Regions from separate parts of the Homo sapiens genome. Here all the other regions are linked to region 5. The links are contacts of gene promoters, found by promoter capture Hi-C in blood cells and fetal thymus (Javierre and others, 2016). All regions are on one chromosome and are shown on one strand. The core of a region is centred on a gene start or on the middle of the fragment in contact, and the rest is flanking DNA. Distances in the headings are between cores, read along the strand shown.

Region 1 (2,700 bases), core at 25-2,524, 760 kb before region 5:
TTAACTAACTAATGAGTAACTCAGTTTAAGAACACACAATGCTAGTTATAATTAACACAATGCTTGTTATAATTAATTATAATAGTGATAGTCATTAAAACAAGGAACTTCTGCCCAGCACTACAAGTGACTCACAGCCATTATCTCAGCTGATACAACAGCTGGGAGAAAGATACTCTTACTTCCTTTTGACCTTTGAAGAAACGGAGGCTCAGAGAGGTTAAGGGATTTATCTATGGCTGCACAGGGACCCTCCTTCAGGTCTGTTGGACTCGTATCCACCCCACCTCTCTGCCCCCTCTCCTGCCTCTCCTTTCCAGAAGGCTCTAGGTCGCAGGGACTCCAAAGCTCAACCCAAGGATAGAGATCCAAGGTCCTGTGGGGCAGTCAGGAGGCCTTACATGCCCTGTCCTGTGTCTTCCTTCTCAGCCGAGCTCTGTGCTGCTCTGAGCTGGGGGAGCCTACTCCCCGAGAAGCAGGACACCCGGAAGGTGTTTCCCCCTGGCTTTGAGGCTGGTTATACAATTGCTTTCCTCCAGCAGATTAACATTTGCTAACGGGGCCTGGCGCAGTGACACAGCGTAGGGTTGCTTTCTGCATGCCTGTGCTGTGGGCTTGGTGGTGGGGGCAAGGCAGTGGTGGGGGCAAGGTCAGGGCAGTGAGTGAGGTCGCCCGTGGTCATCCTCCACCGTGCTGGGGGGTTGTCATCTCTCGGGGCTTAGCACTTGTTGGGGATGGGTGAATTCCAGTCCCGCGTCACGGTGTGTGTTGGGGGAGGTTGCTAATATTCACAGCCCTGTATGTTTGAGAAATGACAACATCCACCTCCACCTTCAGGGTGAGGAGCTGTTGGCCTATCTGTGTCTGTCTGTCTGTCATCTGTACCTGTCTCTCCGAGGGAAAGAAGGCAGGCCCCAGGGTCTTTCTCCAGGATGGCCTTGGGTGAGCTTCTGCTGTCCTCTCTGCCCAGGAAATGAACGTCCTTTGAGGTCAGGTGGATGAGGATGTCAGTGTGAAGATGGACACTGTGCCTGGAGTGAACCTGAGCTGCATCCTGAATGAGATGCGTGACCAGGACAAGACATTGGTGGAGAAGAGCTGCAAGGATGCCGAGGGCTGGTTCTTCAGCATGGTGGGTGGCCGTGCGTAAGCAGGTGTGTACACGTGTGGGCACATGTGCTGCATGCTGGTGCAGCTGGAGCACTGGCAGATCCACAGGCTGTCCCAGTTGGAAGGACTTTTGGAAACCAGTTGGACCAGCCCCTCATGTTTTAGATGTAAAACGTGAGGCTCAGAGAGGACTCAAGCTCACACAGCCCTTCACTGTGGCCTGCAAAATAGATCCAGGTCTCTACAAGTCTGGTCTTGGGTTTCCACCACAGCTGTTTACAGGATGTGCGTATTTGAATACATATGTATACCCTTGGCAAGCACAGGCTGAGTATCTCCGGTATCCTAGGGACAGCAACAGGCGCAAAAGAATAACACCCAGTGCCTGTCTTTGAGGTGCTGCAGTTCAGTAGGAAAAAGAAATGCAAATGACCGCAGAGCAGGCTGAATTCCTCCAAGTTCCAATGTGGGTGCAGAGGCTCTCTGTGTGCAGGTGCCTTTGGGGCCCCATAGAGGCCAGGGAGGGGCTAGGGGATGGTTCTGGGAGGTGAGGGTTCAGGAGCAGCCCTTTCCTGTGCCCCGCTTCTGAAAGTCTCCATAAACCCCTGTGGCCCACTCTGCCTTCCAGAAAGAGGGGCTGAACTGCGAGGTGGCCACCAACACAGAGGCCCTGCAGAGTGGCTGGATAGAGATATGGAGCTCTACGTCTCTGTGCAGAACCTGAGCCGTCCCAGCTCAGCAAGGTAGGGTCTCTGTCCCCTCCCCACCCTGTACCTGTCACCCCAGGGTGAGCCCAGCCTTGTAGACCCCTGCTTGGGGAACCAGAGTCCCCACCCAGCCTGTCCCTTCACACTCAGTGGCTGGGTGCACTACCACCTCATTGTGCTGGCAGCACCCACAGCCCCATACAGGAGGGGCTCCTCTCTAGTGCTCTGCCATGGGGAAGGGTCCCAGGTCCAGCTCATCACACCACCTATCTCTTGGCCCACAGAAAGCATCGCTGGAGGGCAGCCTGGTGGAGATGGAGGTGTGTTACAGGACCCTGCCGGCCCAGCTGCAGGGGCTTAACAGAAGCATGGAGCAGCAGCTGTGCGAGCTCTGCTGCGACACGGAGCACCAGGACCACAAGCACAGGTCCTTCTGGACGTGAAGACGTGGCTGGAGCAGGAGATCGCCACCTACCGCCGCTTGCTGGAGGTTGAGGACGCCCAGTGAGTGTGTACCAGGGTGCCTGTTGGGGTGGGCTGGGGGCCCGCTTCACCCAGGGAGAAGTTGGTGTCTGAGCACCAGCGAAATTCAGGAGGTGTGAATGTCGGAACCTGTTGGGGTTTGCAGGAGGTGATACTGACGATGCAGGCTGGAGTCTGGCTGAGGAGCCTTGAATGCCAAGTTAAAGCGTCTGGACTAGATCACGTAGGCAATGGGGAGCCATGGAGGGATTTGGAGCAGGAGAGTGAAATGAACATCAAGAGATTTTAGAACATTCACTCTGGCTGCAGAGGGAGAAATGGATCAGAGGGGTCAGGGCGGGGCCAGAGAGATGTGTCAGGGGGCTGGAGCAGGGAGTCTGGCCAGAGAAGTCCCGTGCGG
Region 2 (2,700 bases), core at 125-2,624, 590 kb before region 5:
TTGGAGAAAGTCTTAAGCTGAGAGGATCTGAAAGGCTTCTTGTAGCTGGTGGCGTTTGAAATAGGTCTTGGAGGTTGAATAGAAGGTCTACAGGGCACCAGATAGGCAAGTAAGTGTGTGGGGATCTTCAGGAGAGCAGGGGGTCATGCTTGGAAGGCCTCAAGGGGTCTTGCTGGCTGGAGCAGTGAGTTCCTGTGAGAGGCTGATGGGGATGAAGCTCAAATGGTAGAAAGGCATCAGAGAGTAGGGGGGCCTTGGGTACCCCACAAAAAGCCTGGATTCTGGACTCTATCCTGAAGGCAATGGGAGGGCTGCTGCAGGATTTGAGCCCAAAGATGACATGACTTGAGTGGCATCTTAGAAAGTATCACCAAGTAACACAGACAGGATAGCTAAGAGGAGGGGTTAGGCTGTGGAAGAAGCTAACAGGGTCTCAGGCAAGACAATGTCAGGGACCATGGAAAAATAAGGAATCAATCTAAGAGACACTGTGATGGACCTGACTTGGCAATGGATTGGCCATGGCAGGTAAAGAGGAGAGAGCTGGGGACAGGAATCTTGAACACCTTTCTGAACCTCACCCTCCAAACACACAGTTCTTCCTTAATGAGCTGAGATGATGTTTCTATTAAGTATCCTCCCTCTGGCCTTGCCAAGAAATGATGAAAAATGGATTGGATCCTGAAGCTGCCTGCAGGCTGCTCTCCAGACATGATCCTGCAGGCATCCCTGGCAGACAAGGTCATTAGCCTGACAGCAGGGACATGAACATACTGCTTAGCAAGCTGTGGTTCCTGGTTGATGGATGGGTAAAATTTCAAGGAGCTGAAATGCCAAGAGAGAGGGGTTCTGGCTAATTGAATTTTCTCATAACTGCGTGCAAACCAGCAATCTTTAATTTCAACCCCGGTGCAAAACTTTTCTGGAATGTGCTCAGCTTGATAAACAACACACAGAACAGACCAAAGCTTTGGTTCTATAATCCTAGACCTGTTCTGTCCAATATGGTAGTTCATAACGACATGTGGCTGCATATACTGAAACATTCGGTATATGAATGTTTCATATACTGAATTGCACTGAGTTGCACTCGTCACACGTGGCTAAGTGGTAGTAAATAAGACAACACAGACATGGACTATTTCCAACACTGCAGAAAGTTCTACTGGACAGAGCTGTCTTAGACTGTCAGAACTAGAAGGAGCCTTCCAGATGATCTGGCTCAGCTTTCCCAGTTTTACAGAAGAGTCATCTCAGACCCAGGGAGGTGGACAGATGTGCTCACAGACACAACCAACAGGTGGAAATTGAAGCCAAGGGTTTTGACGCCAAGCCTCTTAGGTCTCTCCAAGCACTTTATGCTTTCTCCAAGCACCCTAGGTTTATTATTATTTCAGGCTAATACATATTTCCCCTCTCCTTTTCTTTCATTTCCCAAAGAAGGGAGACATTTTCTCTGAGAAGCTGAAACTTCTTCCTGGGAATATAGTTCTCTTAAAAAGCATCGCTAGCAACTACCAGACTCAGCATCTCCTCTTTCTTTGAGCACTGGGCTCAGTAAGAGCAAAGACCTTGAGCTGCAGCCCAGAGCCTCAGCAGGAATGATTGCACAGGAGTTGTGGGCCAGAAGTCCTGGACCCTGGACCCCCTGGGGACTTCCAGAGTCTCCGTTTCCCCAGTGCATATTGTTTCAGTCCAACTCGGTCCCCATTCCCACACCTGTGTGTCTCTCCCACTTGCCAAGACCTGTCTGACTCCCAAGATGACTGTTAAAGCTTTTTATATGAAACCAAGCCCCACAGCCCAGGGCCAGGAGTACCCTCCTCTGCTAGAAGTGAGGCCCATCATCTTCTGTGTCTGGATGGTACTTCAAGCCAGAGGTGTCACGAGCTACCCTCCTGCCTAGCCTGTCTCTTATTTGATGGATGAAGAAGCCGTGGGCATAGACTTTGGGAGATATTTATCCCCCACCAGCACCGGAATCTCCTGGGAACTGGACTCAGTGTACCACTCATGGAGATTCTCAGAGGAACTCTCTCCTCATATCAAAGCATTTGCATCTAATTAACTCTTTATAGGGGAAGAGTTTATAGGGAAATGTAGGCAGGACCCTGGTCAAGTCATAAAACCTCTGTCATATTTGATGTTTTGGAGAAACCCTCACAGGTATCAGGGATCCTCTCTGAGCGGGATTGGAAAAGAAAAGGGTGTGCTTTTTAAAGACACCACTTTCCCCAAGGCTATTCAAGAGTTTGGGCCTCACCCCTGCTGCTCACTGCCCTAGTGCAAAGCACCCTCTTCTGGGGGTGAGAGTGAGGGCCCATGGGCAGAACTGCCATTCAAGGAAGACTGGCCAGAGGGCGACAGCTTCCCGAAAGATCCAGGAGTTGGGTTTGGCATCTGGGAGTTGGGGCTGTGTGTGGACTCTGAATTGCACTGACTGAATCTTTCTTCACCACTATATTAGGAAACCTTTTAGAGAGTGATCAAAAAAAGAATATGCCTCTTCCAGGGTATAACCAGGAAAATCATTAATAATAAAACAATATTCTTTTTGTATTTCATAATTTTTTTTTCTTTTGGAGAGAGAGTCTCGCCCCGTAGCCCAGGCTGGAGTGCAGTGGCATGATCTTGGCTCACTGCAACCTCTGCCTCCTGGGTTCAAGTGATTCTTGTGCCTCAGCCTCCTGAGTAGCTAGG
Region 3 (2,700 bases), core at 133-2,632, 610 kb before region 5:
ACCGCCTCAATGTTGAGGTGGACGCTGCCCCACCTGTTGACCTGAACCGAGTTCTGGAGGAGATGAGGTGCCAGTATGAAACCCTGGTGGAGAATAACCGCCGGGATGCTGAAGACTGGTTGGACACCCAGGTAGGTACCTGGAAACAGTCAGTGCAACAGGGGTATGTGGTGGCTCACATGGAAGTGACCCTGGGGCTCTGAATCAAGAAATCTAACTTTGAGTCCCATCTCTGTTTTGACCTTGCTGACAAGGTCAAAACAGACCCACTTCAATTGACCTTGCTGACAAGGTCAAAACAGACCCACTTGGGCAGGTTGCTGTCCTCTGAGCAACAATGCCCTCCAGTATAAAATAAATGAGTGGGACTGGGGAATCGGGAATGTCTTTCTTGGCTCATGATTCTAACCGGCCTCTGTAGCTCTCTGAAGCCAAGTCCCTGGTGTGGCTGACCAGGTTCTGTGTGTGTATGTTTCAGAGTGAGGAGCTGAACCAGCAGGTGGTGTCCAGCTCAGAGCAGTTGCAGTCCTGCCAGGCAGAGATCATCGAGCTGAGACGCACGGTCAACGCCCTGGAGATTGAGCTGCAGGCTCAGCACAGCATGGTGAGCCCCAAGGCAGGGTGGAGCTGCCTCTGGACCAAGCCGAGGAGCACACAAGCTCCCCAGCTTCCATGCTTTGACCACACAGGCGGACTCCAGGGGTCCATGTTCTTGAGCACCAGGGGTTCTCTATGCAGAAAAGAGGGAATGAGGGACCAGCTCCAGTCACAAATCCCCCAGTGGTAAAGGACAAGAGACCTGTAGCAACTGACATGTCCAGGCAGTAGGTCCTATATTTGTGCAAGCAGATACATCTTCTGAGTAACTATCAGTTACTCAGAGATGACACTAACAGGGAGATACTTTCTAGATCAAAGAAGCCACAGGGGCTAATTAGCTCATCTCAAGTGAGATGTCTGATTGTGGTTCATCCTAGCTCAAACTCTGATTCTCCGAGCTTCTGTTCTTGGATTCTGAGGCCTCACTGAGACCCAGATTCCTTCCTTGCTCCTTCTCTGACCTCTAGCCTTTTTCCTCCCTACACAACTCTTGACCTCACAGAGAGATGCTTTGGAATCCACCCTGGCAGAGACGGAGGCCCGCTATAGCTCCAAGGAAGATTCCTTCCTTGCTCCTTCTCTGACCTCTAGCCTTTTTCCTCCCTACACAACTCTTGCCCTCACAGAGAGATGCTTTGGAATCCACCCTGGCAGAGACGGAGGCCCGCTATAGCTCCCAGCTGGCCCAGATGCAGTGCATGATCACCAACGTGGAGGCCCAGCTGGCCGAGATCCGGGCTGACCTGGAGCGGCAGAACCAGGAGTACCAGGTGCTGCTGGACGTCCGGGCCCGGCTGGAGTGTGAGATCAACACGTACCGGGGCCTGCTGGAGAGTGAGGACAGCAAGTGAGTATCACTGCATGTGCTCTTGTCTTCTCACTGCAATCTACCAAGTTCTGGGAAGACAGCATGGTGCCTAGAAAGAGCCTGGCATTCGGAGTCTGGAGTTCTGTTCTCTTAGTTCTGGTCTTCCTGAAAACTCATCACGTGACTCCAGCAAGCCCCCTTTCCTCTCAGGGCCTGTTTCCCTTTTGGTAAAACAAGGGGGCAGGATCAAGGTGGTTTTTAGGGTGCTTCCCAGTTTGCATAGTCTAGGATCTACTTTGAGTTACTGCAAACAGCAACTGGAAAATCACAGTAATTTGTTTTCTTTTTTCTAGGCTCCCCTGTAACCCATGTGCACCTGACTACTCACCCTCCAAGTCATGCCTTCCCTGTCTTCCTGCGGCCTCCTGCGGTCCTAGTGCAGCCCGCACAAACTGCAGCCCCCGCCCCATTTGTGTGCCCTGCCCAGGGGGTCGGTTCTGAGAGCGGGTGACCCAGATGGCCATGGCTATTGTCTCCAGGGCTTGAACTTGGCCTCTACCCAAACTTAACCCTTGTAGCCCAATCCCCTCTCTTCGCGCAGAGCCCAGGCCCAGGGTCTGGCTGAAAAGGCTTTCTGCAAATACATGCCCTAAAGTTTCTCAGAGCCTGTCACAAAGGCCGGCTGCCCCCAAAGGTCTCAACTCCTCATCATTTCAATGGGTGCCAGGGTCTCTGTTCTCAGGCTGCCTCCTGGGTCAGGTTTTCCTTCTAGGTGCTGTTCCGGTGGATTCTGAAATGCAGTAGAGGGCTTTTGTTGGCAGAACAATAAAGTGCATTTGCTCAGGCCCCTGATGCCTAACTTGCACCATTCTGGTGTTGTTGGCTTGTGTCTCTGCTGTGTCCAGGGGGTGACTGTTGGGCAGCCGAATGGGAGATGTGTGACCAAGTATGACCCTTTGGATGACAGGGTCACTATGCCCCTGTTTGGGGTGGGTAGAGGCCTACAGTGAGAGCTTTTGCTTGGCTTCCCTGATGAAGACCTTTCTCCAAGATTCCAGTGTGGTGCCAGGTGTTTTCAGACTGCTGTGGAATCCCTCTTAGTATACGTGGTCACCTGGGGATCCCAGAGTGGGAGGGACAAAACTGAGATGGAAACTGAGATCAGCATAACAGGGAGGGTTTTAGGCCACTTTATCAGCCTCTTGTCTGTGGTCCTTGTAAGACCGGCGATAGGGTGTCTCCCTCCCAGGGTACTTTTAGGGGTGCATTTACATAAGCCCCCTACCATTGCA
Region 4 (2,700 bases), core at 67-2,566, 690 kb before region 5:
AACTGTTTACTCTTCTCTGGTTCTTTTTCTGCTACCTGCTGTCTTCCTCATCTACCATTTTACATATCTTTTTATTTATTTTATTTATTATTATTATTATTTTTTGAGACGGAGTCTCACTCTGTCGTCCAGGCTGAAATGCAGTGGCACGATCTCAGCTCAATCCAACCTCTACCTCCCGGGTTCAAGCGATTTTCTGCCTCAGTCTCCTGAGTAGCTGGAACTACAGGCACCTGCCACCACGCTGAGCTAATTTTTGTATTTTTAGTAAAGACGGGGGTTTCACCATGTTGGCCAGACTGGTCTTGAACTCTTGATCTCAGGTGATCCACTTGCCTCGGCCTCCCAAAGTGCTGGGATTACAGGTGTGAGCCACAAGGCCTGGCCCATTTTATGTATCTTTTCTCTACCTCAATTTGGGAAATTCTCCACCTTAAGTGTGAAGCTCCCCAAGGGAGAGGTCAGAAACTTGCTTTTCCGAGCTCACCTGCATCTAGGGCATGGGCCCCTGACAGCCCTGCCACTCAGGTGCGCCCGCACAAGACGTTTTTTTTTTTTTTTTAACCATGGCACCCCATTGGAGTGAAGGACTTTGATTTTGATTTAAAGGAGGTGCTGAGTGGAATTTTTTATGGCAGGAACAAGGTTGGGCAGAGATATGTGATTTTTTGAGGAAGCAATAGCAGCGGCTCTGGCAAAGACATGCAGTGCCCATCATCCATAGTTTGAGCTTCAATTTTGGTGGCCAGAAGTGACAGCAGTGGTGTGTTCCTAGAGCAATCCTTGAGTGTGATTTGGGGAATTTTTCTGTTTGCATACCCTCCAAGTTTGATTCTCTGCACATCCTGGAAAAGATGCCCAGTAGTTGCTCATTATTTCACAGGGAATACATTCAAAGATCCTGACTGGATGCCCAAAACTGTGGATAGCACCTAAATCTATCTACACTATGCTTTTTCCTACACATTCATACTTAAGATACAGTTTACTTTATAAATTAGGCAGACCAAGAGATTAACAACAATAACTAATAAAATAGAATCGTTATAACAATATACTGTAATAAAAATTATTTGAATGTGGTCTCTCTCTTTCAAAATATCTTATCATACTGTAGATCTTAGCAACCTCAGCGTATGGTTTTTTTCTTTCCGTAGTAAGTTTTGAACTGTCATCTTTTCTCTTAAAGAAAGCATTTTGCTGGCTGGGCGCGGTGGCTCATGCCTGTGATCCCAGCACTTTGGGAGGCCAAGGCTGGAGGATCACCTGAGGTCAGGAGTTTGAGACCAGCCTGACCAGTATGGAGAAACACTGTCTCTTCCAAAAATACAAAATTAGCCAGGCATGGTGGCGCATGCCTGTAATCTCAGGTACTTGGGAGGCTGAGGCAGGAGAATCGCTTGAACCCGGGAGGCAGAGGTTGAGGTAAACCGAGATCACGCCATTGTGCTCCAGCCTGGGAAACAAGAGCAAAACTCCTTTTAAGAAAAAAAAAAAAGCACTTTGTGGCTTCCCTTTGGCAAATCTGAATTATCAGCATCACTGCTCTTGCACTTTGGGGTCGTAATTAAGTAAAATAAGGGAACACAAGCACGGCAATACTGCAACAGTTGATCTGACAACTGAGACAGCTACTAAGCGACGACTAGTGGGTGGGTGGTGCATAGAGCATGGAGAGCTGGACAAAGGGATGATTCCTGTCCTGGGCTGGACAGAGTGGGGCAGTGTGAGATTTCATCATGCTCTTCAGGGCAGCACACTTCAAAACTGACAAATTGTTTATTTCTGGAATTTTCCATTTAATATTTTTGGATGACAGTTGACCACAGGTAACTGAAGCTGTGGAAAGCGAAACCATGGATAAGGGGAATGACCGTGTTGCTTTCTCTGCAGGTGAAAGCATATTTATTCTGGTACTCTTTGTTTATTGGGATAAAGAAAAAAGAATTTCCCACAGCAGGTGCCAGGGTCAATGGTGATCTGCTTTAGAAAAGGGACACAATCTGGATCAACGACTGCTGTTGGAACAACCATGTGATAAATTGTAAAATAATTCATGGCTATTCTCTAACATCTGTTCATGTTCTGCACAGAAAAACTAGGCAAGTTAACCCTAAATTTATCATTTTTTTTTTGAGACAGGGTCTCTCTCTGTTGCCCAGGCCGGTGGGCAGTGGTACAATCACAGTTCACTGAAGCCTTGACCTCCCAGGTTCAAGCAATCCTCCTACCTCAGGCTCCCAAGTAGCTGGGACTACAAGCGTGTGCCACCACGCCAGACTAATTTTTGAGGTTTTTTTTTTTTTTTTTTTTTTTTTTAAACTAGAGACAGGGATCTCACTCTATTGCCAGGGCTGATCTTACATTCCTGTGTTCTCTCCCCATCTTGCCCTTCCAAAGTGCAGGGATTACAGGCATGAGCCACCACTCCTGGCCCATCAAATCTTTCATGTGGCACTAATCTCTGTCATTCCCTTAGAGATGTAGTGTTGCTGGTCCTTTTTCTAAACCACGTAATCCTTACTGGTAAGGATCAGGATCCTTTTACTGACTATGTCTAGTCCACTCCAGACACTGGGAAATAACCACAGGATTGGTCTGGGATACCACTGGGCTCATGAGAAGCAAACTTGGGCTAAAACTCCATTTGTCATCTGATCTCTATATTGGTTAGATTCTCAATTGCAACTACCAGAAACT
Region 5 (2,700 bases), core at 63-2,562:
CATGTAAAAGAAAAATCCTTATTCCTTCTTATCCAATCAAAATGCTCACAATTTAAATTCCTAAGGGAATTCCACCACCCTGGAATTGTACTACTCGGTTTCCAGGTATCTACAACTCTCTCTGAAAGCAGGCTTCTTTCAAGTTAATGCATTTCCTGTAAGAACGTTAGTTCTCATGTTCAATATATAAGCCATATCAATTTCAAAGATAAATAATATACCAAACAAGAAAGTATAAGAACTTTATGTCTTAAAAATTAAAGATACTGGATATAATTCCTTGAAGCACGCTTTGCAAAGTTTTCACAACAAAGTTTAAAATATAACATTTAATTTATTCTATATTGTAAAATTTATCCTTTTTCATCATAGCAGTCAACTGAAATGGTTCACTAGCCTCTTAAACTTGGGGTTTTAATCATTTCTTAATTTGAACTGTGTTTCCACTTTCTCCTTATTGATAATGGCAACAAAATCTGAAGTGTTTACACAATCCATTCAACTAGTCAACACATTTATTGAGCAACCATTACAGGCAATATCTGTTGAAGGAATAAACATAGTAAATGCTGAGTGTAGAGCAGTGAGCAATCAGACAAGGTAAAACTGCTAAAACAACTATAATAAACTCTACTATAAACAACTGTACTCAAAAATAGTACTTTTCCAAGTTGAAGAATAAGAGGGAAAAGAAACATGCAACATCCTAAAGCCAAGGTTTTAAAATCCTTGAAAATGCAAATTCTAGTATCCATCTGGAAAATATATTTATTCTCCACCTTTCACCAGTGCATTTCACAGCTGCTTCTGAAGCTGTATTCCACTAAAAGGTATACTTGATCATGACTGGATTTTACATTGGATTGGTTTTTCCAAAGGAAACAAATGGTTTACACTGGATTTTCCAAAGGAAACAAACAGAAAAGATCAGGGAAGAACTTAAAAAAGCATAAGGTTTAGGAAGAAGTATTTAACGTATCCATTCAGCAATCGCTCATTATCTTCCTACTGTGAACAAGACGCTAGGCAGTGCTGGGAATACAGGCAACAGACTAATTTGGAGAAGAAAAATTCCTTATGACAAGCAGACTCTACTCCACCCAGCTTTCTTTTTCATATAACAAATATTTAATGGAAATGATTATTCGATTATTTCTGTATCAATGAATTTTCATTATACATAAATCATTCACTTGTTGAGCTGGCCAAAAACCTGGGGGGAGGATCCAATTTTGAGTGGAGAAAGTGAACTTTTCAACTGCGACACCCATCTTGCAGCCTATATAAGTTTAGCTTTCTGGCTTGCTGGCACAACTTCCTCTCCAGTTGTGGCCACCTTCCCCAGGCCATGGATCTCTCCAACAACACCATGTCACTCTCAGTGCGCACCCCCGGACTGTCCCGGCGGCTCTCCTCGCAGAGTGTGATAGGCAGACCCAGGGGCATGTCTGCTTCCAGTGTTGGAAGTGGTTATGGGGGAAGTGCCTTTGGCTTTGGAGCCAGCTGTGGGGGAGGCTTTTCTGCTGCTTCCATGTTTGGTTCTAGTTCCGGCTTTGGGGGTGGCTCCGGAAGTTCCATGGCAGGAGGACTGGGTGCTGGTTATGGGAGAGCCCTGGGTGGAGGTAGCTTTGGAGGGCTGGGGATGGGATTTGGGGGCAGCCCAGGAGGTGGCTCTCTAGGTATTCTCTCGGGCAATGATGGAGGCCTTCTTTCTGGATCAGAAAAAGAAACTATGCAAAATCTTAATGATAGATTAGCTTCCTACCTGGATAAGGTGCGAGCTCTAGAAGAGGCTAATACTGAGCTAGAAAATAAAATTCGAGAATGGTATGAAACACGAGGAACTGGGACTGCAGATGCTTCACAGAGCGATTACAGCAAATATTATCCACTGATTGAAGACCTCAGGAATAAGGTAAGATCTCTTTTGGAGGCGCTTTGGGAATTTTTTTTTTCCTTTTTACCATTACAATGTTTTACAGTGATAATCACCTACAACTTTGATATTTTCCAATTTAGCTGTACTTGCAGCAATTTTCTCATCCCAGGTTGTTTCACTCCACTTTATCATTTACTAAGAAATGATTGTATTTCCATTATCTTTCTGTAGGAAATCTGCATTTCTTTACTTCTCAATATTATTTTATACAGATATTGTCTTAGAAAAATGAAACTGTCTTAAACTCTAAATAAAACAGCATTTAATATCACCATTTTCACCTTTGTGTCAAAAATATATTTGTATAATACTAGTCTTTTAGGGCTTCAATCTTGTGTGTGTCCCTCTCTTTTGCCAGATCATTTCAGCCAGCATTGGAAATGCCCAGCTCCTCTTGCAGATTGACAATGCGAGACTAGCTGCTGAGGACTTCAGGATGAAGTGAGTCGAATAAACTGAAGATCATGGGCGTGTCCCACCATGTCTTCTGTCCTACTGTCCTGCCTTCATTGATATAAAATCTTCTGAAGTTCACATACTCCATATATTTACTGTTTTGGTAAATTCACATAGGGTGTTCTAGAAAGTAATTAGAATCTAATGCAATTCAGATTAAATGTCCTTAAATTATAAGTTACTTAAACCCAGGGCTATGGATCACGATATTTGTAGTGTGCTATTGACTCAACTCATGATGTGACTGACACCATAATCCTACCAGTGTCCTAAACCTCAATTTTCTTTTTTTGTTTTTTGTTTTT
Region 6 (2,700 bases), core at 50-2,549, 860 kb before region 5:
CTAAGGACACTTGTTTGGGGCCACACAGCCGGGGTAGATCTGAGCCCGTCCTCTCTACTCCTGTGCTGTAGCACCTTCACTGGCCCATCCCTCCCCTCTAGTGCTGTCCTGGTACCCGTCCCAGCCTGTCCCCATTCTCATGGCCCTTTGGTCACTGCCGGGTGGAATAGCACTGGCTTCAGCAGGCGTGTCATGTAAGCTTGTGCAGGTTATAAACTGAACCATGACCTTTATGGCGCATGCAGGGGGCAACCTGCATAATTATCAATGGCGACTTTCCGTGTCCTTCTGATACAGTTGATCAGACCCCTGCCCACCGCCCAGGCCAGGCCTGTGGTCATCAATGCCCCAGTTCACATCCACCTGCTTCTCTTCCAGGCTTTGCTGTTCCCCAGCAGCCTGCAGAGGCCCCACAGACAGCTTGAGGCCCCTCCTTCTGCTGCCTGGCCAAGCCCCACACCCGCAGACCCTCCTTCCCATCCTCTGAAATGGGACCCTGTGTCTGTCACCAGCCCACCCTCTGTGTTCATGAACCTGGGCTGGAGCTTGGGGACCCCTCCCTGCCCCTGGCTTCCTCTTCCATGTTCTGCCCTTTCCCACATGTTGGAGGCTTTTCCAACGTCTTCAGGGACAGGCGGTAGGAACCCCGGCCCTCGCTCTGCAGCTGGTGCAAAAGCTGTGGCTGCCAGGTCTGGGCCACATGGCAGCCCAGGGGGCAGGAGAAGCCCGGGAGAGGCCCACTGGCTACCAGACTCAGCCCTGAGCAGGGAACAGGGCCCAGCTTCCACCGGCAGGGAGTTGTGAGCGCCTTCCCAACAATGTGCCCCTCACCCCTTGATGCCCATGCTAATGGTAGCCACCCTGGTTCTTGTTGACTTGAGGGACCTGGCTGTCTTCCCTGTTCTTCATCCTTTCTTCTCAGTCCCTACCTACTGTTTGTAACCACAAGTGTCTCTGTGTGTGGGTGGGTGAGGGCCCCTCTGCCCAGTGGTGTGTCTCCTCTCCCTCCCTCCCTCTTCTGCCAGTGGCCTGGGGGTGTCCAGGCTCCCATCCGTGGCCCAGCCCCTCTCCCCTCTGTCTTGATCCCCCCCTCCCTGCCCCTGGCTTCCTCTTCCATGTTCTGCCCTTTCCCACACCTTTGTTCCTCAATAGCTGGGGGCTGGGACTGAGGCCTCCTGCAGGTACCTGCCCCCCTTCACACAGCACCTCTCAATCTCCTATTGCTTGTCAGCCTGTGTGCGTGTGGTGCAGGAAATAAAGGATCTATACCCTCCTGGCCCAGCCTCCAGCTGTCTCTCTAGGGAGTGTGTGTGTGCACTTGGCAGGGCGAAGTTGTAGAGAAAGGGTGGATGCTAATATTGAAGTATGTGCCGAGGACTCCTATTAAATACGCCGTTTAATCATAGCAGCAGCTCCTAGAGGGCGGTGGGTGATGTCATAAGTGTCTGTTGGATGGAGAAACTCAGGCCAGAGTAGGTTAAGTGATGCCCTCACCAGCAGATCATGGCTAGTGTGGAGCTGGGATTTGAGCTCATGCTTCCCTGATCCTTTCACCCCAGAGACTGACTCAGTGGCCTGGCTGTGAAAGATAGGATGGGAGAGAGTCACCCACTGTCTTAGGGTGAAGTCCCCAGAGCAGACCTGGAACAGGGTTTAGGAACAAGTATAGTCGCCCTCCGTATCCTCAGGCTCTGCATCCGTGGAGTCAACTAACCACAGATAGAAAATATTTGGGGGAGGCTGGGTGCAGTGGCTCATGCCTGTAATCCTAGCACTTTGGGAGGCCGAGGTGGGTGGATCATTTGAGGTCAGGAGTTCGAGACCAGCCTGGCCAACATGGTGAAACCCCGTCTCCACTAAAAATACAAAAATTAGCTGGGCGTGGTGGTGGGTGCCTGTAATCCCAGCTACTTGGGAGGCTGAGGCAGGAGGATCACTTGAACCCAGGAGGCAGAGGTTGCAGTGAGCGGAGATCATGCCACTGCACTCCAGTCTGGGCAACAACAGCGAGACTCCATTTGAAAACACAAGAAAATATCTGGGGGAGGCCAGGCGCGGTGGCTCATGCCTGTAATCCCAGCACTTTGGGAGGCTGAGGTGGGTGGATCACTTGAGGTCAGGAGTTCGAGACCAGCCTGGTCAACATGGTGAAACCCCGTCTCTACTAAAAATACAAAAAAAATTAGCTGGGCATGGTGGCAGCCCCTGTAATCCCAGCTACTTGGGAGGCTGAGGTGAGAGGATCACTTGAGCTTGGAAGGTTGAGGTTGCAGTGAGCTGAGGTTGCACCACTGTACTCCAACCTGGGTGACAGAGTAAGACCCTGTCTCAAAAAAAGAGAAAAGAAAATGACAGACAAACCAGACATGGGGGAAATTGCCAGCTTTGATAAAGCTTTGAAGGAAACGGAGATGCAGGAGAACACCTTGTGGACCAGAGACCACTGAGCAGGAGAAGCAGTGAAATTTCCTAAAATCTGGAGGATTCCCTGCCCCTGTTATCTTCAAGTCCCCAGTGGTGATGTGGAAGAAAAGCAACCTGCAAGGTGGATGCAAGCCACAAGCTGCTCTGTGAACCTGGGCACCTCACACAGATGCCACTGGCCTGTGGGTCTCTGAGGGGACCCGCAAATGGGACTGCCAAATTCTCTGGTTTGCTCCAGGATATTATAGAAAATTATTTATATGAATAGTAAAAATA
Region 7 (2,700 bases), core at 24-2,523, 540 kb before region 5:
GCAAAAACCGTGCTGAGTTTATGAAAGTTGCAGTATACTGAAACTTCTGGTGCAGTAAACAGGGCAAAAGGAATATTTCCTAACATCCTTGCCAAGGCAGTGTCTATCCACACAACAGCATCAACCTCTTATGCATATCTATTGTCACCTTTGATTATCCAGTTAAAGCTTCTGAAGAGCCTACATCTTAGTTTTGGAGACAAGAAGACAAGGAATGTCAAAATAGGGGTTACAGAAACCTGGCTAGATTCAGAGAAGACCTGTGGGGAGGTTGGACAACCAGAGGAAAGATCTTCTTTAGAACAGATCCTACTTTATCTAAAACATTCATAGCCAGTCCTCTGTTCTGTGGCCTAGTTTTTTTTTTTTTTTTTTTGAGACAAAGTCTCGCTCTGTCACCCAGGCTGGAGTGCAGTGGTGCAATCTCAGCTCACTGCAAACTCTGCCTCCCAGGTTCAAGTGATTCTCATGTCTCAGCTTCCTGAGTAGCTGGGATTACAAGTGTGCGCCACCACTCCTAGCTAACTTTTATATTTTTAGTAGAGATGGTGTTTCACCATGTTGCCCAGGCTGGTCTTGAACTCCTGACCTCAGGTGATCCATCTGCCTTGGTCTCCCAAAGTGCGGGGATTACAGGCATGAGCCACTGCGTCCGGCCAGATCTTCTTATTTATATTGGGCTAAGCATCATATCTGGCAAAATGAAAGCAAGTCTTTGTTATATGTTCAGTTTGCTACTGTCTTCCATCTCCTGGTTCCTTTGACTCTATGTCTTCATCCTTTTCCAAGAAGTCTCTTGCACATCTTCCTTCCCACACCACAAAAGCATCTCTTGCACGTTTGGGAGTTTGTGTTGTCCAGGCGGATGCTGTAGGTTCAACTTCAGCCAATAAAACTTCCTCTCACCTGAGGCTATAGGTGTCTCTGGGATCAGTAAGTCACTTACTGAGCCTACTTTCTTACCCCAGATTCTGTGCACCAAATCGGAGAACAATAGGCTGGTTGTGCAAATAGACAATGCCAAATTGGCTGCAGATGACTTCAGGACCAAGTGAGTTGGGGTTGGACAGGGATGGGAAGGAGCCAAGTGAGAGTTGGGGTTGGATGGGGATGGGACAATGCCAAGTTGGCTGCTTCTGTCTCATGTGGCATCGGATGTCATTGACCCAGACCCCAACCCAGTAGTTATAGCAGAAGAGAACAAAGGGCATTAAGCTCAAGATCCTGAAAAACTATCCGCTCTCCAGTGGTTTAGCATTAACAGTTTACAACATGTGCTAGAATGCATCATCCACCTGGTAAGCAACTTGTGAAGCAGGCGGGCAGGGATAGAATCTCCTCCACAGGTGGGGACCCTGAGGCTTGGGGTGCTGGTGTGACTTGCCAGAAGCCATGTGGGTACCGAGTGGCAGAGCTGGGACTTGGCCTTAAATTTTGTACCAAATTTTCCTTTCTTGAAGCAATTTCCTGTGAAACTGTTGCCTTAATAAGGATATGTTTCTGTGCTGCAGCTTGATTAATTTGTGAGTGCTGATAATTCATAGCAGAAATCATGCTCCATAGCCTAAGATGAAAACATGTGAAAGTCAAAGGGTTGACACCACCTGAGGAGGGTCTACCCTGGGTGCTGGAAGGGCATTGTGTTTTATCATCTTTCTTCGGGGCACTGTGCAAGTCTCACTCTTCTAGAGCTAAAGAAAGCCATTTCCTTCCTCTCATGCTGGCAATGTGGCTTTTACTCTAATAGGGAATCCAGGGTCCCTTTGGGTATGGGGCTTGTAGAGAGGGGCCTGCAGTGATTGCACTGTGTTGCAAATGCCTGGTTACTTTGCCACCTCCCTTTTGGGCCATTGTGTGTAAAGGCAGGTGCTGGCTGTGTGTCCATCACAGTATCCTCAGTACCAGCTGCTCCCCTTGGTTCATCTCAGGTGCTTAGTATTGACTGAGTGGGGAACATCCTGTTGCTTTCTGGGCTTTGAGCACACTACACAGGATAAGCCAACTCACAATTAGATGGCAAAGGGCAGGCCAGTGGACTTACAGCTGCGAGCTGGGAGTCATGTCCTGGTGCCCCTTCCTGCCCTCTAACTGTCACTCCTGCACTTTCCCTGTTACAGGTACGAGAGAGAGCGCTCGCTGCAACAGCTGGTGGAGGCTGACATCTGTGGCCTGCGCAGGGTGCTAGACAACCTCACCCTCGCCAAGTGTGACCTGGAGGCCCAGCTGGAGTCCCTGAAGGAGGAGCTGCTTTGCCTCAAGAAGAACCATGAGCAGGTGTGTGACCCTTGGTGTGATGCATTGAGACTTTCTGGAGGTGAATTCAGGCTCATCTGGGGGGAAAAAACGGAGGCTTCCTTCTGCTTGGGATTGAAGCTTTGCAGGTGAGCTCTGGCTTTTGGTGGGAGATTGCTTCTCATCCACAGCTTCTGGAAGCTGCTAGGCTGGTGCAGGCAGCGGTTTATCTTCAGAGGAGCACAGGGAAATTACTGGGGAGGATGGAAAGTGGGAGTTGAGAGTTTGGGTGAAGGGCAGTTGGGGGCCCTGCAGGCGGGTCATACTCCTCTGATGCCTACAGGAAGCCCACACTCTAAGGGGTCAGCTGGGAGACAAGCTCCGGATAGAGCTGGACATTGAGCCCACCATTGACCTGAGTAGAGTTCTGGGGGAGACGTGAGGCCAGTACGAGGCCATGGTGGAGAC

Evidence for each region. The method cuts DNA at HindIII sites, captures the fragments that hold promoters and counts their contacts. A CHiCAGO score of 5 or more calls a contact.
Region 1: a fragment that was not itself captured here is called in contact with the fragment with the promoter of KRT12 in region 5 in 6 of 17 cell types (total CD4 T cells, naive B cells, naive CD8 T cells and 3 more); the score reaches 7.7 in total CD4 T cells.
Region 2: a contact is called between a fragment that was not itself captured here and the fragment with the promoter of KRT12 in region 5, in 1 of 17 cell types (M1 macrophages). The highest score is 5.1, in M1 macrophages.
Region 3: a fragment that was not itself captured here is called in contact with the fragment with the promoter of KRT12 in region 5 in 3 of 17 cell types (M2 macrophages, M1 macrophages and M0 macrophages); the score reaches 8.7 in M2 macrophages.
Region 4: a fragment that was not itself captured here is called in contact with the fragment with the promoter of KRT12 in region 5 in 6 of 17 cell types (total CD4 T cells, non-activated CD4 T cells, naive CD8 T cells and 3 more); the score reaches 11.3 in total CD4 T cells.
Region 6: a fragment that was not itself captured here is called in contact with the fragment with the promoter of KRT12 in region 5 in 1 of 17 cell types (non-activated CD4 T cells); the score reaches 5.4 in non-activated CD4 T cells.
Region 7: a fragment that was not itself captured here is called in contact with the fragment with the promoter of KRT12 in region 5 in 2 of 17 cell types (M0 macrophages and endothelial precursors); the score reaches 7.1 in M0 macrophages.

What each region holds. Positions count from the first base shown.
Region 1 is chr17:41,627,508-41,630,207 of GRCh38, reverse strand. It overlaps the pseudogene KRT42P. Among named protein-coding and RNA genes, the nearest start is that of KRT17, 4.3 kb to the right of the region's middle. The HindIII fragment of the contact is 5,188 bases long and covers 1-2,700 here.
Region 2 is chr17:41,456,057-41,458,756 of GRCh38, reverse strand. No RefSeq gene overlaps it. Among named protein-coding and RNA genes, the nearest start is that of KRT32, 10 kb to the left of the region's middle. The HindIII fragment of the contact is 807 bases long and covers 971-1,777 here.
Region 3 is chr17:41,476,265-41,478,964 of GRCh38, reverse strand. It overlaps KRT35 (keratin 35), which reads left to right. Exons shown (of 7, transcript NM_002280.6): 4 at 1-131; 5 at 479-604; 6 at 1,227-1,447; 7 at 1,762-2,255. The coding sequence ends at 1,909. Among named protein-coding and RNA genes, the nearest start is that of KRT35, 3.5 kb to the left of the region's middle. The HindIII fragment of the contact is 6,798 bases long and covers 1-2,700 here.
Region 4 is chr17:41,560,732-41,563,431 of GRCh38, reverse strand. No RefSeq gene overlaps it. Among named protein-coding and RNA genes, the nearest start is that of LINC00974, 7.6 kb to the right of the region's middle. The HindIII fragment of the contact is 7,476 bases long and covers 1-2,700 here.
Region 5 is chr17:40,865,835-40,868,534 of GRCh38, reverse strand. KRT12 (keratin 12) reads left to right here and starts at 1,312. Exons shown (of 8, transcript NM_000223.4): 1 at 1,312-1,915; 2 at 2,298-2,380. The coding sequence starts at 1,349. The region is part of intron 1 of LOC105371777 (a long non-coding RNA gene); the gene reads right to left. The HindIII fragment of the contact is 7,860 bases long and covers 1-2,700 here.
Region 6 is chr17:41,721,216-41,723,915 of GRCh38, reverse strand. HAP1 (huntingtin associated protein 1) reads left to right here. Exons shown (of 11, transcript NM_177977.3): 11 at 1-1,276. Among named protein-coding and RNA genes, the nearest start is that of GAST, 10 kb to the right of the region's middle. The HindIII fragment of the contact is 2,195 bases long and covers 202-2,396 here.
Region 7 is chr17:41,408,207-41,410,906 of GRCh38, reverse strand. LOC100505782 (a long non-coding RNA gene) reads right to left here. Exons shown (of 3, transcript NR_040111.1): 2 at 590-2,486. It also overlaps the pseudogene KRT41P. Among named protein-coding and RNA genes, the nearest start is that of KRT31, 12 kb to the right of the region's middle. The HindIII fragment of the contact is 2,205 bases long and covers 171-2,375 here.